Regions from separate parts of the Homo sapiens genome. Here all the other regions are linked to region 1. The links are contacts of gene promoters, found by promoter capture Hi-C in blood cells and fetal thymus (Javierre and others, 2016). All regions are on one chromosome and are shown on one strand. The core of a region is centred on a gene start or on the middle of the fragment in contact, and the rest is flanking DNA. Distances in the headings are between cores, read along the strand shown.

The links. The method cuts DNA at HindIII sites, captures the fragments that hold promoters and counts their contacts. A CHiCAGO score of 5 or more calls a contact.
Region 2: a fragment that was not itself captured here is called in contact with the fragment with the promoter of RNF130 in region 1 in 1 of 17 cell types (neutrophils); the score reaches 5.3 in neutrophils.
Region 3: a contact is called between a fragment that was not itself captured here and the fragment with the promoter of RNF130 in region 1, in 2 of 17 cell types (neutrophils and total B cells). The highest score is 6.6, in neutrophils.
Region 4: the fragment with the promoter of MAML1 here is called in contact with the fragment with the promoter of RNF130 in region 1 in 2 of 17 cell types (total B cells and total CD8 T cells); the score reaches 6.9 in total B cells.
Region 5: a fragment that was not itself captured here is called in contact with the fragment with the promoter of RNF130 in region 1 in 1 of 17 cell types (naive B cells); the score reaches 5.1 in naive B cells.

What each region holds. Positions count from the first base shown.
Region 1 is chr5:180,070,239-180,073,119 of GRCh38, forward strand. RNF130 (ring finger protein 130) reads right to left here and starts at 1,521. Exons shown (of 9, transcript NM_018434.6): 1 at 1,218-1,521. The coding sequence starts at 1,464. RefSeq lists an enhancer at 1,195-1,902 and a silencer at 1,792-1,871. The HindIII fragment of the contact is 6,319 bases long and covers 1-2,881 here.
Region 2 is chr5:179,572,396-179,575,276 of GRCh38, forward strand. All of the region lies in intron 5 of RUFY1 (RUN and FYVE domain containing 1), which reads left to right. All of the region lies in intron 4 of LOC128966623 (a long non-coding RNA gene), which reads left to right. It also overlaps the pseudogene PRDX2P3. Among named protein-coding and RNA genes, the nearest start is that of RUFY1, 23 kb to the left of the region's middle. The HindIII fragment of the contact is 2,630 bases long and covers 83-2,712 here.
Region 3 is chr5:179,708,889-179,711,769 of GRCh38, forward strand. CANX (calnexin) reads left to right here. Exons shown (of 15, transcript NM_001746.4): 6 at 90-171; 7 at 985-1,177. Among named protein-coding and RNA genes, the nearest start is that of CANX, 11 kb to the left of the region's middle. The HindIII fragment of the contact is 1,522 bases long and covers 724-2,245 here.
Region 4 is chr5:179,731,360-179,734,240 of GRCh38, forward strand. It overlaps MAML1 (mastermind like transcriptional coactivator 1), which reads left to right and starts at 1,463. Exons shown (of 5, transcript NM_014757.5): 1 at 1,463-2,068. The coding sequence starts at 1,754. It overlaps CANX (calnexin), which reads left to right. Exons shown (of 15, transcript NM_001746.4): 15 at 1-282. RefSeq lists enhancers at 1,006-1,105, 1,867-2,367 and silencers at 1,556-1,755, 1,996-2,055. The HindIII fragment of the contact is 11,025 bases long and covers 1-2,881 here.
Region 5 is chr5:179,750,654-179,753,534 of GRCh38, forward strand. The region is part of intron 1 of MAML1 (mastermind like transcriptional coactivator 1); the gene reads left to right. Among named protein-coding and RNA genes, the nearest start is that of MAML1, 19 kb to the left of the region's middle. The HindIII fragment of the contact is 6,852 bases long and covers 1-2,881 here.

The DNA.
Region 1 (2,881 bases), core at 271-2,770:
TTTCTACGGCCAAGCTGGGACCCTAACTGCCATTTTTAACACAGTAGAGATGAGATATGCACCTTAAGCACCTGATTACTGGTGTAAAACGGACTTTTCAAAGCCTAGTCTGAGTTGCGGACAGGCTACAGTAAAAGCCTTATGTGATTATTTTTCCCCAGCCAGACTGTCTCAAAGAAGAAAACAGCTTAGCACTTTGGCATACAAATACAGACCTCAGAGGGGCATAATATGTTAGTATCTTAAGAGTGTACAAGCAAATCATGACTTTATTTAGGTTGCCTACTTTAGGTCATCCTAACATGAACAGCAGTTTAGAAAAGAAAAATCCCCTCTCAGCATTCTCAGGGTGACAATGAGGGTGGGGATAATGGCAGATATCTCCCAAAAGTTCAGCGTGGGCCAAAACCCAAAAAATCATATTCCACGATGTGCAAAAGGTTTCTTTCAAACCATGACTAATAATTTAAACAAATACATGTTTACACCAAATAATCAACTAAACAAAGTCCTTGTTCATAGGAAAACATGACATTAAGCCGAATGGTTTCAAAGACAATTCTTGAAAATTTTACCTATTTCCCTTTTGGTCGGCACCCGTGACCTGAAAAGCCTTGGCTAGTAGTTCCGATTAGTGTCAGATCCTCATAATGTGACATTTTCAGGCGTCAAATTACAGTAAAACTACTAGGGCAAGAACAAGAGCCAAAAGCAACAGGGAAGATGTCCATTTTCCATTTACACCCCCCCCCCAATTTACCACTTAAGAAAAACGGCACGTTTTTATATTAGAAAAGGGCCGCATCCTTCCAGATCTAGCGCAGCCTTAAGTCCGTGATTTGAGGAACCTGCCGCTTCCAAAATACAGGCTGAGACGTCCTCCCCATGAAGTAGTTTTGCGCTCTTGCACCACCTCCTTTGTCTACGCTGTCCCTGCAAACTCCTAGCTCAATGCCCTCCAGCAAACGAGCTGCCTGAACGCAAAGATGACCGTTCCAAGTCTTTTTTAAAAGAAGGGAAAAACCCAGTCACGCTCCTGGAGCCTGGTTCCCACGGGAGCAGGCCGGGCTGTCCACGACGGAAGCCTCGACCCTGGCTGGGGCTGTCGGCCGGGCAGCGCGGGAGAGCCAGGGCCAGAGCCGGGGCCGGGAACCCTAGTCCCGCCGCCTACGCGGGATGCAGCGACCACCGCCCGCCGCCCCCGGGCCGGCACTCACCTCCGTGGAGGGGCAGCGGCGCCAGCACCTGGCCGCGGACCTCGGCCTTGGGGGAGTCAAGCCCGTAGCGCCCGCGGTCGATGCGAAACGTGAGCGGGGCGCCGCGGCCGGGCTCCTGCACCGTCACGTTGATGAGCGCCGTGTAGTACTCCTGGCTCGCGTTGTCTGCCCGTGCCGGCCACAGGCTGCAGGTCAGCAGGGCGAGCGCGGCGAGCCGGGCAGGGCCCGCCCGCCCCGCGCAGCTCATCGTCCCTCCGGCAGCCGCCGCTGCTCGCGGACCGGGCTCCGGGGCCGGCGCCTAGAGGCGGGGCGGGCGCGGCCCGGGCGGCGGCGGGAGCGCGCGCGCGCGGCCTGCGCGGGGCCGAGCCCGAGCGCGGCCCTCCTGGACGCCGCGGCCCCGCCGCTCGCCGCCCTCACGTCCACTGCCCGCCTGTGGGGACGCGCCCATGGGCCCTCGGCGAGGGCGGCGTCTCAGGTCGCACGCGGGCGTCTCTTCGGGGTCCCAGGAGGGTTGTAGAAGCGTGCCCCCTCCATCCCCCCGGGTCGGTCCCACCGAATGGGAGGCGCCTCGCAAGGACGCGGCGGGGGAGGGGAAGGGCGGCACGGGAGGAAGCGCCCCGAGGAGGGTCAGCGGAACACAAAGTCCCTCTCGCGCGGCTGCCGCCTGAGGCGCGTGTCCGCCGCCGCCCCGCCCCCCCGCTGGTCTAGCGGCAACGCGCAGGCCTAAGGCGCAGTCCCGCCCCGAGCGCATGCGTGCCAGGGCCTGTCCGCTCCCGCCCGCCTGCACGAGGGCCCGGGCAGCCGGGTCAGCCGCTGGTGCTGGTTGTTTCTCTGTCAGGCGTGATAGCCGCAGGGCGTGGAGCCCGGGAGATTTGCGAGGACGTATGGAAATGTGTGAGAACAGACTACAAAGGAAAAAAAGCCATAACTTTAAAAGAAATGTTTAAAATTAAATGTCATGAGATTTAACATTCACGTCATGCGGTTGACATCATGGATGGGGGATGTCTCTGGCCCGGACCTGCAGGGACACGAGTGGTTGGGAAAGACCTCTAGGGTAGCCGTCCCTAACCATTTTGGCACTGGGGGACGGGTTTCCAGGAAGAGAGTTTTTCCAGGGACTGAGGGAGTTGAAGTGGTTTCCGGATGAGGCTGCTCCACCTCAGATCATCAGGCGTTAGATTCTCGTAAGAAGTGGGCAACCTAGGTCCCAAGCATGCGCAGTTCACAGCCGGGTTCACGTTGCTATGAGAGTCTAATGCCGCCCTGATCTGACAGGAGGCGGAGCTCAGGCGGTGATGCTCACTCACCTCCTGCTCGCTTACTGGTTCCTCGAAGGCCCTGGGCCGGTACAGGTCCGCGGCCGGGCGGTTGGGGAGCCCCTGCTCTAGTGACTAGGTGAACTACTCCAGGGGCCCCCGGACCAGAGGGTTGCAGTGGGAACCCCCCCTCCACCTTCCGAAACGCGCGCGCGCGCACACACACACGACTCTCATTTTCTCTCTCCATGGCGTTTAAAAGATACACATCGCTATAAAGTATCAGCTAAAAGGAAGAATGGGGCAGTGCAGCCGAATTCAGGAACTTACAGGATCTTTGTGGGGAGGCGGAGGGGGAAAGTTTGGCGTCTTCTGACCAGCCAGGGTTGAGTCTCCTGTCTCCTA
Region 2 (2,881 bases), core at 148-2,647, 500 kb before region 1:
ACCCACCTGGCTTGGATCAACAACCCCCAGAAGTAGGGAGGCTTAGGCCCCCGAGCATCCCCCACCCGCTGATGTGACGGGAAGCTTGTCTGAAGATTACTGTGTGCTGAAAACCAATGAGGGCATTGCCTACCCTGCCTCTTTATCATCGATGGCAAGGGTGACTTTTGCCAGATCACTGTTAATGATTTGCCTCTGGGGTGCTCCATGGATGAGGCTCTGCAGCTGGTCCAGGCATTCCAGTACGCAGATGAGCACGGGAAAGTTTGTCCCACTGGCTGGAAGCCTGGTAGCGACAATGAAGCCCAATGTGGATGACAAGGAATACTTCTTCAAACACAACTAGGCTGGCCGATGGATAGTGAGCTTGTGCCCCTACTGGGTACCCTGTGCTAACCCAGGAAAGGCCAGACCTGCCCCTCCAATCTCCACAGTCTGGGACCCTGGAGGGCCAGGCCAAGACCTTCTGCTTCTACCTGGGTAATTTTTTACACACTTTATGTGTAAAAAATGTGTAAATTTTACACATTTTTGCCATTTGTTTTGGCATAGTGTGAAGTAGGAATCTAAATTTCTTTTACAAATAGTTAACCAGTTTTTGCAATATCATCATGTAATATATTTTTTCTACTAATTTGAAATTCCACTTTTATCATATGTGAAATATCCATAATATGCATTGGTTTATTTCTGGACTCTTCTGTTGTAAATCTGAATCTGTGTTCCTATGCCAGTGACACATTCTTTTAATGACTGGAGCCAGATAGTATATTCTAGACTCTGGTAGTTAAGCGCCTGCCTACTCTGCTGTACTTCTGTTTCAAATATTTCTGGGCCATCCATTCTGCCAGATGAACTTGAACATCGTTTTGTCAAATTCCAGAATAAAAACTCCATTGAGATTTTAATTAATTAATAGACATGAGTGAGCAATCTGGTCTAGTGCTATCTTGAATGGCAGTGCCTATAGTGTGTTCTTCAAACACACTATAGTATACATAATCATATACATAATAGTATACATAAAGTATACATGTTTGCTGCTGATGTCTGAGGGATGCGGTTTCTCACGTTTAGAGAGTGCTTTCCACTCCAGTTTACCTTGTGTTTTGTTGTTGTTGTCGTTTTGTTTTTTTCTTTTTTTTGAGATGGAGTCTTACTCTGTCGCCCAGGTTGAAGTGCAGTGGCATAATCTCCACTCACTGCAACCTCCGCCTCCTGGGTTCAAGTGATTCTCCTGCCTCAGCCTCCTGAGTAGTTGGGATTGCAGGTGCCTGCCACCATGCCCGGCTAATTTTTTGTATTTTTAGTAGAGATGGGGTTTCACTATGTTGGCCAGGCTGGTCTTGAACTCCTGACATCGTGATCTGCCCACTTTGGCCTCCCAAAGTGCTGGGATTACAGGCGTGAGCCACCGTGCCCGGCCTACTTTGTGATTTTTTAAGAGATGAATGTTGAATGTTGTCAGATACTTTTTTTGGATCTATCAACATGTCAACCTGCTTTTAACCCATAAATATAATTGAACTAATTCATAGGTTTCTTATTGAATACTATCCCTGAATTTCTAAAATAATCCCTACCTGATCATTGTAAACCCTGGATTTGATATGTTTACTGTTTGGAATTTTTGTGTCTCTGCTTGTAAGTGAAACTATTCTGAATTTTCTATACTGCCTTTGCCACCTTTCCGTGTCAGAATTGTATTAGCCTCATAAACTGGAAGGCCGGGCGTGGTGGCTCACACTCCCAGCACTTTGGGAGGCCGAAGTGGACAGATCATGAGGTCAGGAGGTTGAGACCGCCCTGACCAACATGGTGAAACCTGGTCTCTACCAAAAATACAACAATTAGCTGGGCGTGGTGGCGTGTGCCTGTAATCCCGGTTACCCAGGAGGCTGAGGCAGGAGAATCGCTGGAACCTGGGAGGCAGAGGCTGCAGTGAGCTGAGACCGTGCCACTGCACTCCACTCTGGGCAACAGAGCAAAACTCCGTCTCAAAAAAAATAAACATAAAAATAAAATAAACTGGAAAATAGCCTTCCTTTTCTTGTTTTCTACCGCAGCTTATTAGATCAGGAATTATTTTTTCTGTGCAGGCTTGCTAGAACTTACTGGTATGACCACTTCACCCTTATGCCTTTTTTGGTCTTTGTTCTTTGACCACTTTAACTTTTAGCATAGTTTTGATCAATTTATTGGTTTCCTAAGTCTTAAGACAATTTTTAAAGTCATTTATAATTTTTTTAGAAACCATTTCATTCAGCTCTACTAAGCTAGAGTTGTATGAAAGTATTCTCTTACAGCTTTTGAAAAATCTCACTGTTCTCATTTATAATGTGTATTTGCTAAATATTGATCACACTTAGTAGAAATTTGTCTACTTGGTTGAACTTTGACAAACCAGCTGTCTTATTTATCAATTCTACTTTGGGAGTAGGGCTTTATTTGCTTTCTAATCCATTGATTTTTGCTTTGGGTATTAATTCTTTCTCATCTTTCTGTTGCTTTTTCCTGGCTGTATTTTTTTATGATTTGGTTTTTTATTATAAAAGAAATGCTTGCTTGTTGAAAAAAGTTAGGCAATACCAAAGTATATAATGTGAAAAGAGAAGTTGAACCTCCTCTTCTCACCCCACCCCCCGCCCCAGCCGCAGTCCTCCTCCCTTTCCCACAGGTGATGGTAAAGATTCTGGGGAAAATTTTTCTAGAAGCTTTTCTACTTTTTCTATACATTTATGTTCACGTAGGTTTTGTTTTAAATTAAATATTTTCTGGTCTTCTATTACTGTGTAACAAGTCAGCAACAGCACTTAAACAATAACAATCACTGTATCTTTCACAGCTGGGGGCTAACTGGGTTCAGCTAGTCGGTTCTTGT
Region 3 (2,881 bases), core at 235-2,734, 360 kb before region 1:
GACTAAGATGAGGGAGAGAGGAAATACATTAAGAGAGTTTCGATCTTTCAAAATGCCATACAGTTTTCTGCTTTTCTCTCTGATATTAGGTATGAGGTTAATTTCCAAAATGGAATAGAATGTGGTGGTGCCTATGTGAAACTGCTTTCTAAAACACCAGAACTCAACCTGGTATGTAATTCCCATTTCTGGAATGTGGCTGGACACCCACTATTACCTTGTAAGAATTTTGTAATTGGGCCGGGTGCAGTGGCTCACGCCTGTAATCCTAGCTCCCAGCACTTTGGGAAGCCAAGGCAGGCGGATCACGAGGTCAGGAGATTGAGACTATCTGGCTAACATGGTGAAACCCCATCTCTACTAAAAATACAAAAAATTAGCCAGGCGTGGTGGCAGGCGCCTGTAGTCCCAGCCACTTGGGAGGCTGAGGCAGGAGAATGGCATGAACCTGGGAGGCGGAACTTGCAGTGAGCCGAGATTGCGCCACTGCACTCCAGCCTGGGCGACAGAGCGAGACTCCATCTCAAAAAAAAAAAAAAGAGAATTTTGTAATAATTGTGAAAATAAAGGCTTCCTCCCCTGCTGTTTAACTCTTTTGATGAGTTGGGAAAATTGACTTTGACGCTAACGTGCTTTTTATTTGAAGTGTAAATTACAAAGTTGTTACCAACTGTTTTTATCTGAATTTCTGGTTTTGCTTCTGTGTAAGTTTTAGTTTTGGCAAGCTTATTTCTTTGTTTTATGAGGAAGCAATAACTGTCTAGATGTGTGCATTACTTTTTTTTAGACACTTAAACGTTATTTTAAATTTACTGATGATTGCTGGTTATTCCTTTTTACTAAACAAACTTGTAGTTAGCTTTTCCTTTAACTGTCACTAATATATTTGGAATTTTATAAGAGGAATTATCATACACTTTTGAAACGTTGCTTTTGAACACTTTGAGTACAGTGACTTCAAATAATCCTTTTTTGTTTTTGAAGGATCAGTTCCATGACAAGACCCCTTATACGATTATGTTTGGTCCAGATAAATGTGGAGAGGACTATAAACTGCACTTCATCTTCCGACACAAAAACCCCAAAACGGGTATCTATGAAGAAAAACATGCTAAGAGGCCAGATGCAGATCTGAAGACCTATTTTACTGATAAGAAAACACATCTTTACACACTAAGTAAGAAAAAGCATTAGTTTGGGGGCTTATGGTATTACATATATATCATCCATTTAATTTAAAGATTGTATATCTGGCCGGGCACTGTGGCTCACGCCTGTAATCCCAGCACTTTGGGAGGCCGAGATGGGCAGATCACCTGAGATCAGGAATTCGAGAACAGTCTGGCCAAAATGTTGAAACTTCACCTCTACTAAAAATACAAATATTAGCTAGGCATGGTGGTGCACGCCTGTAACCGAAGCTAGTTGGGAGGCTGAGGCAGGAGAATTGCTTGAACCTGGGAGGGAGCCAAGATCATTGTGCCACAGCATTCCAGCCTGGGCGAAAGTGAGACTCAATCTCAAAAAAAAAAAAAAAGGCTGGGCGCGGTGGCTCACACCTGTAATCCCAGCACTTTGGGAGGCCGAGGCGGGTGGATCACAAGGTCAGGAGATCGAGACCATCCTGGCTAACATGGTGAAACCCCGTCTCTACTAAAAATACAAAAATATTAGCCGGGCGTGGTGGTGGGCACCTGTAGTCGCAGCTACTTGGGAGGCTGAGGCAGGAGAATGGCACGAACCCGGGAGGCAGAGCTTGCAGTGAGCCGAGATCGCGCCACTGCACTCCAGCCTAGGAGACAGAGCAAGACTCCATCTCAAAAAAAAAAAAAAAAGATTGTATATCTGGAGAGTACCCCAGCCTCCAAACAAGAAGAATCTCAGCCTGGTATGGTTGCTCATGCGTGTAATCCCAGCACTTTGGGAGGCTGAGGCGGGCGGATCACTTGAGATCAGGCATTCGAGACTAGCATGGCCAACATGGTAAAACCCCGTCTCTACTAAAAATACAAAAATTAGCTGGGCGTGGTGTTGAGTAGCTGGTGTAATCCTAGCTACTCGGGAGGCTGAGGCAGCAGAATTACGTTAACCCAGGAGGCAGAGGTTGCAGTTGAGTCAAGATTGTATCACTGCACTCCAGCCTGGGTGGCAGAGGAAGATTCTGTACCCCCTCCACGAAAGAAAAGAATCTCTTCACTTTAGTATCTTAGTTGGGAAATGACCTTAATTTGTCAGCATTAAAAGAAGCTTCTTGGCCACGTATGGTGGCCCACACCTGTAATCCTAACACTTCGGGAGGCTGAATCGGATGGATTGCTTGAGTCCAGGAGTTCCAAACCAGCCTGACAACATAGTCAGACCCTGTCTCTACAAAATCTTAAGAATTAACTGAGTATAGTGGCATGTGCCTGTAGTTTCAGCTACTCAGGAGGCTGAGGTATGAGGATTGCTTGAGCCCAGGAAGTCGAGACTGTAGTGAGCCATGATCTTGCCACTGCACTGTAGCCTGGGTGACAAAGTGAGATGCTGTCTCAAAAAACAAAACAAAAAACCCAAAAAACTTCTTTTCCACAGGAACTGAGGTTCGAGATAATTTTAAGAATAGAATAGGTGTTTTTGGCCAGGCATGGTGGCTCGTGCCTATAATCCCAGCACTTTGGGTGGCCGAGGTGGGCGGATCACCTGAGGTCAGGAGTTTAAGACCAGCCTGGCCAACATGGTGAAGCCCCATCTCTACTAAAAATACAAAAATTAGCCGGGCATGGTGGAGGGTGCCTGTAATCCCAGCTACTCAGGAGGCTGAGGCAGGAGAATTGCTTGAACCCTGGAAGCGGAGGTTGCAGTGAGCCAGATTGTGACACTGCACTCCAGCCTGGGCGAC
Region 4 (2,881 bases), core at 213-2,712, 340 kb before region 1:
ATTAAATTTTTAGATTACATACTAAAGAAAAGTATGTACACAGAATGTAGTGCTCCTAGTTACTATTTTTTCTATTAAGAAATAGTTTAGTTCTGGTGTAAAATTTGTTTGAATGCTAAAAAAAAAAAAGCAGGACTGCATTATGGCACTTTTGCCTTGGTGGCCCACTTTCTCCATTTAAAACATTAGGATTTGTATTTTTCTGCTGCGTTTGTATGAAGACATATTTGATTGTTGTTTTCTCTTGATTTTAAAATAAAACCTCATGAGCCCTAGTAAAAAGCTAGAGTAACGAATGTTTGAACTACTGATGGTGTATCTCAATGTGCAGCCTCCTGCCACCTCCTGCTTAACCTTTTAGCAATTAGAGTGCCCATATCTAGAGTTCCTGATATCCTTTGGCATCACACTATCTAGTTTTAGTACTAACACTGTTTGATTGCTCCAGTCCCTCTACTCCCCTTTGCCTATTAGTTTTAATAATGGGGCATAATTTGTCTTGGTTTGGTTTTGTTGAGTAACTCAGTTTTACCTAAAGGACTGTTTTTGGTCCGGCGCGGCGGCTCACGCCTGTAATCGCGGTACTTTGGCAGGCCGAGGTGGGCGGATCACCTGAGGTCAGGAGTGGGAGACCAGCCTGACCGACATGGAGACACCCCGTCTCTACTAAAAATACAAAATTAGCCGCGCGTGGTGGCGCATGCCTGTAATCCCAGCTACTGGAGAGGCTGAGGCAGGAGAATCGCTTGAGCCTGGAAGGCGGTGGTTGTGGTGAAACGTCGTCCTTTGCATTTCCAGTTCCCTCTAATGGAGCTGCACTCTTGCATGCTTTTGCTCACATCTTCTGGACTTTTTTTTTAAGTAGTGAGTAATACTGCACTTTTGAAACTTGCTCGGGCTTTTACAAATAGGTGGAAACTACCAGTGATTCGGAATGTTGCAAGAGGAAACTACCAGCTCACTAGACGATTCTGACCAATTATGGGGCTGGATACAAGGAATAAGGTCAAAGTAAAACGGCTGACATTAAAATAGCGTGGCTACTTAGAGTTTATCAAAGTCGAAATTTAAAAAATAATTTAAAAAAAAGGTCTCTGTACTGCCAGGCGGGCGACAGGGACTGGCCAGCTGCGCCGCACTCGCCTGCCAGATTCCCCTTTTCTCGGGGTAGCCGGAAGGGCCTGCCTTCAGCGGGTGCTGTGCAGGAAACCAATAGCCGCCTCTTGGACGGGCTCCTGTCAGTCACGCTTAGCTCCGCCCCCAGGATTAAGGCCCGCCCAGGGGCTTCCCTCCGCCCTTCGCTTGAGAATTCCTTTTAAATACCGCTCTGGCGCCCGAGCGCGCCTCTTGCGTGCTCGTCCCCACGCCCTCGGGCGGCCGGTTCTTCCTTCTCTGATTGGCCAGGGCCCCTGCTCATCAGTCGTGATGCACAAGGTCTCTTACCGAGGCCCCGCCTTCTTCCGAGAGGCCCGAAAACAATTTTAAGATGGCGGCCGCGGCGGTAGCGCGGAAAACAATGGGGCCGGGGCGGTGGGGAGAGGCCGAGGCTTGAGGTAGGCAGCAAGCGCCGGCTGGGGGTCGGGCCGAGCGGGGCAGGAGGAAAACCCGCCGCCGCGCGCGAGCCCGCTCCGCTGCCCTCGGGGGCATGGCGCGGCCGTGAGGCGGAGAGGGGTAGCCGCGGGGAGCGAAGCCCGCAGTGCCAGCCGGCCCCGAGAGGCCCGGCCCCGGGCCCGGCCCGTGCAGCCCGCGGCCCATGGTGCTGCCCACCTGCCCCATGGCGGAGTTCGCGCTGCCGCGGCACAGCGCGGTCATGGAGCGCCTTCGCCGGCGCATCGAGCTGTGCCGGCGCCACCACAGCACCTGCGAGGCCCGCTACGAGGCCGTGTCGCCCGAGCGCCTGGAGCTGGAGCGCCAACACACCTTCGCCCTGCACCAGCGCTGCATCCAGGCCAAGGCCAAGCGCGCCGGGAAGCACAGGCAGCCGCCCGCCGCCACGGCCCCGGCGCCCGCCGCCCCGGCCCCGCGCCTGGACGCCGCTGACGGCCCCGAGCACGGCCGCCCGGCCACGGTGAGTAGGGCGCGGGAAGGCGCTTGTCGTGGCGGCAGCCCCCTCTCCCGAAAACGCTTCCTCTGACGCGGATCGGGCCGCTGGGAGACTTCCCCAGGCGTCCGCGACTCCTGGATCTGGCTGGAGAGAGGGTAACATGGCAGGGAGCTGAGAGGTTGTCATCTTTGGGAAGTGGCACGGTGGCGTTACTTTGGGAAAACAGCGCCTTGAGGGCCTTGCAGGAGGCCCGACCTGGGAAGGCTGGCGAACGCTAACCGGAGGGTTTTTCTTCCAGACTTGATTCCGGGATGTTGAGATCTTTATTCGAAATAGACTAGCATTCGAGTCGCCTGTGATGGAGGGAGTTCCTGCACCGTAGGCCTGGCCTCATTTATTCTGCAAATGTTTATTGGGTCCTTGCCCTTTACAAGATCCTGTGCTGTGAGCAGGATCAGGGCTTTCATGTGGAAATAAGTCGGCCTTTGGTTGACCAACTGAAACTCCTCTGAATGGAAAATCAAGAAATTTTTGGAAAACTTAGTAAAATGTTCAATGAGTTGCATATAAGTATTCCTTGTTTAGGTAGCCTGAACTTTGTGAACTTGAGATTCCTGCAATATTGTTGACAATTCTAGTTTTAATTTATCAGGCCTGTTTAAAATCTCTGATGATGTTAGATTGTTGGTCAATTATTACTCCCTTTGGGCTCTCAGTAAATGTTCCTGAAATTTGTTGGTTAGAGGTTTTTCTTCCTGAAACAGATTTACAAAAGAGACAAGGTTTTTCAGTGGTTTTCTTGGGGATTTTAGTTTAAAACCAATGTTAAAATCTAAT
Region 5 (2,881 bases), core at 281-2,780, 320 kb before region 1:
TCTTGCCGTGTTCCCCAGGCTGGTCTCGAACTCCTGAGTGCAAAGCAATCCGCTTGCCTGGGACTCCCAAAGTGCTGGGATTACAGGCCTGACGGCTCTCAGTAGATTCTTATTGGATAAATTGAATGAGATGATGAGGAAGAGTTTGCTAGAAAGAGAAAGGTGGGCAAGGATGACGATTCCCAGCAAGGAGGCAGCTGGCACAGAGCCACAGTGCCTGCTGTATGGAGCCCTTTGTGCAGTAAGGAGCTGCTGCTGGGCCCAGGCGGCAGGTCCCGGGGGCTTCCCTTATCTTCAGTGCTGTCCTGAAAACTTAGTTGTTCAAGGCTACTTTTTTTTAAATCAGAATCTCGCTCTGTCACCAGGCTGGAGTGCAGTGGCACGATCTTGGCTCACTGCAACCTCTGCCTCCTGGGTTCAAGCGATTCTCCTGTCTCAGCCTCCCGAGTAGCTGGGACTACAGGCGCACACCACGATGCGTAGCTAATTTTTTATTTTTAGTAGAGACAGGGTTTCACCATATTGGTCAGGCTGGTCTCAAACTCCTGACCTCAGGTGATCCACCCGCCTCGGCCTCCTAAAGTGCTGGGATTACAGGCGTGAGCCACCGTGCCCAGCTGGCTACTTTCTATAGTTATACTGTCCATGAGGGTAGCCATCAGCCAGGTCAGGTTCTTAAGCACGTGGAATGCACCTTGTTAAACTTGACTTGTGCTAAAAGTGTAAAATGCACACTGGATTTTGATAATTTAGTACCACAGATTTTTTTGGTGCACTCACTTCAGTGGCTGTCACCTGTAATCCCAACACTTTGGGAGGCCAAGGCGGGCGGATCATGAGGTCAAGTTCGAGACCACCCTGGCCAGCATGGCGAAAGCCCGTCTCTACTAAAAATACAAAAATTAGCCGGGCATGGTGGCGCACACCTGTAATCCCAGCTACTCGGGAGGCTGAGGCAGGAGAATCACTTGAACCCGGGAGGCAGCGGGTGCAGTGAGCCAAGATCATGCCACTGCACTCCAGCCTGGGTGACAGAGCGAGACTCCATCTCAAAAAAAGAAAAAAATACCGATTATGGCCAGGCACAGTAGCTCATGCCTGTAATCCCAGCACTTGGGGAGGCTGAACTGGGCAGATCACTTGAGCCCAGGAGTTCAAGACCAGCCTGGGCAGCATGGCAAAACCCCATCTTTACAAAAAATTAGCCAGGCTTGGTGGTGTACACCTGTAGTTCCAGCTACTAGGGAGGCTGAGGTGAGAGGATCATCTGAGCCTGGGAGGTCAGGGCTGCAGTGAGCTGTGATTGCACCACTGCACTCCATCGTGGGCAATAGAGTGAGACCTTGTCTCAAAGAAAAAAAAATACTGATTACATGTTAAAAAGATAATATAGGCCCAGTGTGGTGGCTCACACCTGTAATCCCAGCACTTTGGGAGGCCGAGGTGGGTGGATCACGAGGTGAAGAGATCAAGACCATCCTGGCCAACATAGCGAAACCCCCTCTCTACTAAAAATACAGAAATTAGCTGGGTGTGGTGGCGCACGCCTGTAGTCCCAGCCACTCAAGAGGCTGAGGCAGGAGAATCGCTTGAACGCGGGAGGTGGAGGTTGCAGTGAGCCGAGATCGCACCACTGCACTCCAGCCTGGCAACAGAGCTAGACTCTGTCTCCAAAAAAAAAAAAAAAAAAAAAAAAAATATATATATATATATGGTTAAATAACATTATTAAAGATATTAAGATTTTTTCTCAAAAAATACTGATTATATGTTAAAAAGTTCATATATATTGGGTTAAATATGATATTAAAATTGGCACCATCTGTTTCTTTTTATGTGCTACTAGCAAATTTTGCCCACACTTGTGGCTGGCATATTTCTATTAGTGCTGTTGAGTAATGAGTACGTTTGTACTGTGTTGAGTTTAACACTTTATTAGATACTCTTTTTTTTTTTTTTTTTTTTTTTTTTGAGATGGAATCTCGCTCTGTCGCCCAGGCTGGAGTGCAGTGGCGTGATCTCAGCTCACTACAAGCTCCGCCTCCCGGGTTCACGCCATTCTCCTGCCTCAGCCTCTGGATATTACTCTTTATGTCCTCTTTCATCTGTGGAACTCATTTATTTTATTTTATTTTTTTGAGAAGGAGTCTCACTCAGCTGCCCAGGCTGGAGTGCAGTGGTGCAATCTCGGCTCACCGCAACCACCATCTTCCAGATTCAAGTGATTCTCCAGTCTCAGCCTCCTGAGTAGCTGGGATTACAGGCACCCGCCATCATGCCCAGCTAATTTTTGTATTTTAGTAGAGACAGGGTTTCACCATGTTGGCCAGGCTGGTCTTGAACTCCTGACCTCAGGTGATCCGCCCGTCTTGGCCTCCCAAAGTGCTGGGATTACAGGCGTGAACCACAGCACCTGGCCCATCTGTGGAACTCTTATCTCACTGTCACTTCACAATCATTGGAACAGGAAAGACTGTATTTATAATTACTGATTTCAGTTTGCTCACCTAAATCCTAGATGCTATTTTTTAGTGTGTGTGTGTGTGTGTGTGTGTGTGTGTGTGTGTGTGCGCGCGCGCGCGCGCGTGCTGGGGTGAAGGAGTCCTGAATTCACATTGTCTGTCTTTGGCCTCTGGCAATCTGCCTTCTGATTTCACTACTCAATTAAACCAGTCTATCTTGACATCTTTAATGCGTTTTTACTTTTATTACCCTCCGTGCTACGTTTGATAATATTTCAAATTTTTCTCCTTAAGATAGAATTGCTGCACTTAACTCCCAGATCCATTTGGACAAGTAGATTCAATTGTTTTATTTGTAAAGGGAATAAGGGTGTCCAGCTTGGTCAAAGGAGTTTGAGGAGTACATGCATGTTCTGGAC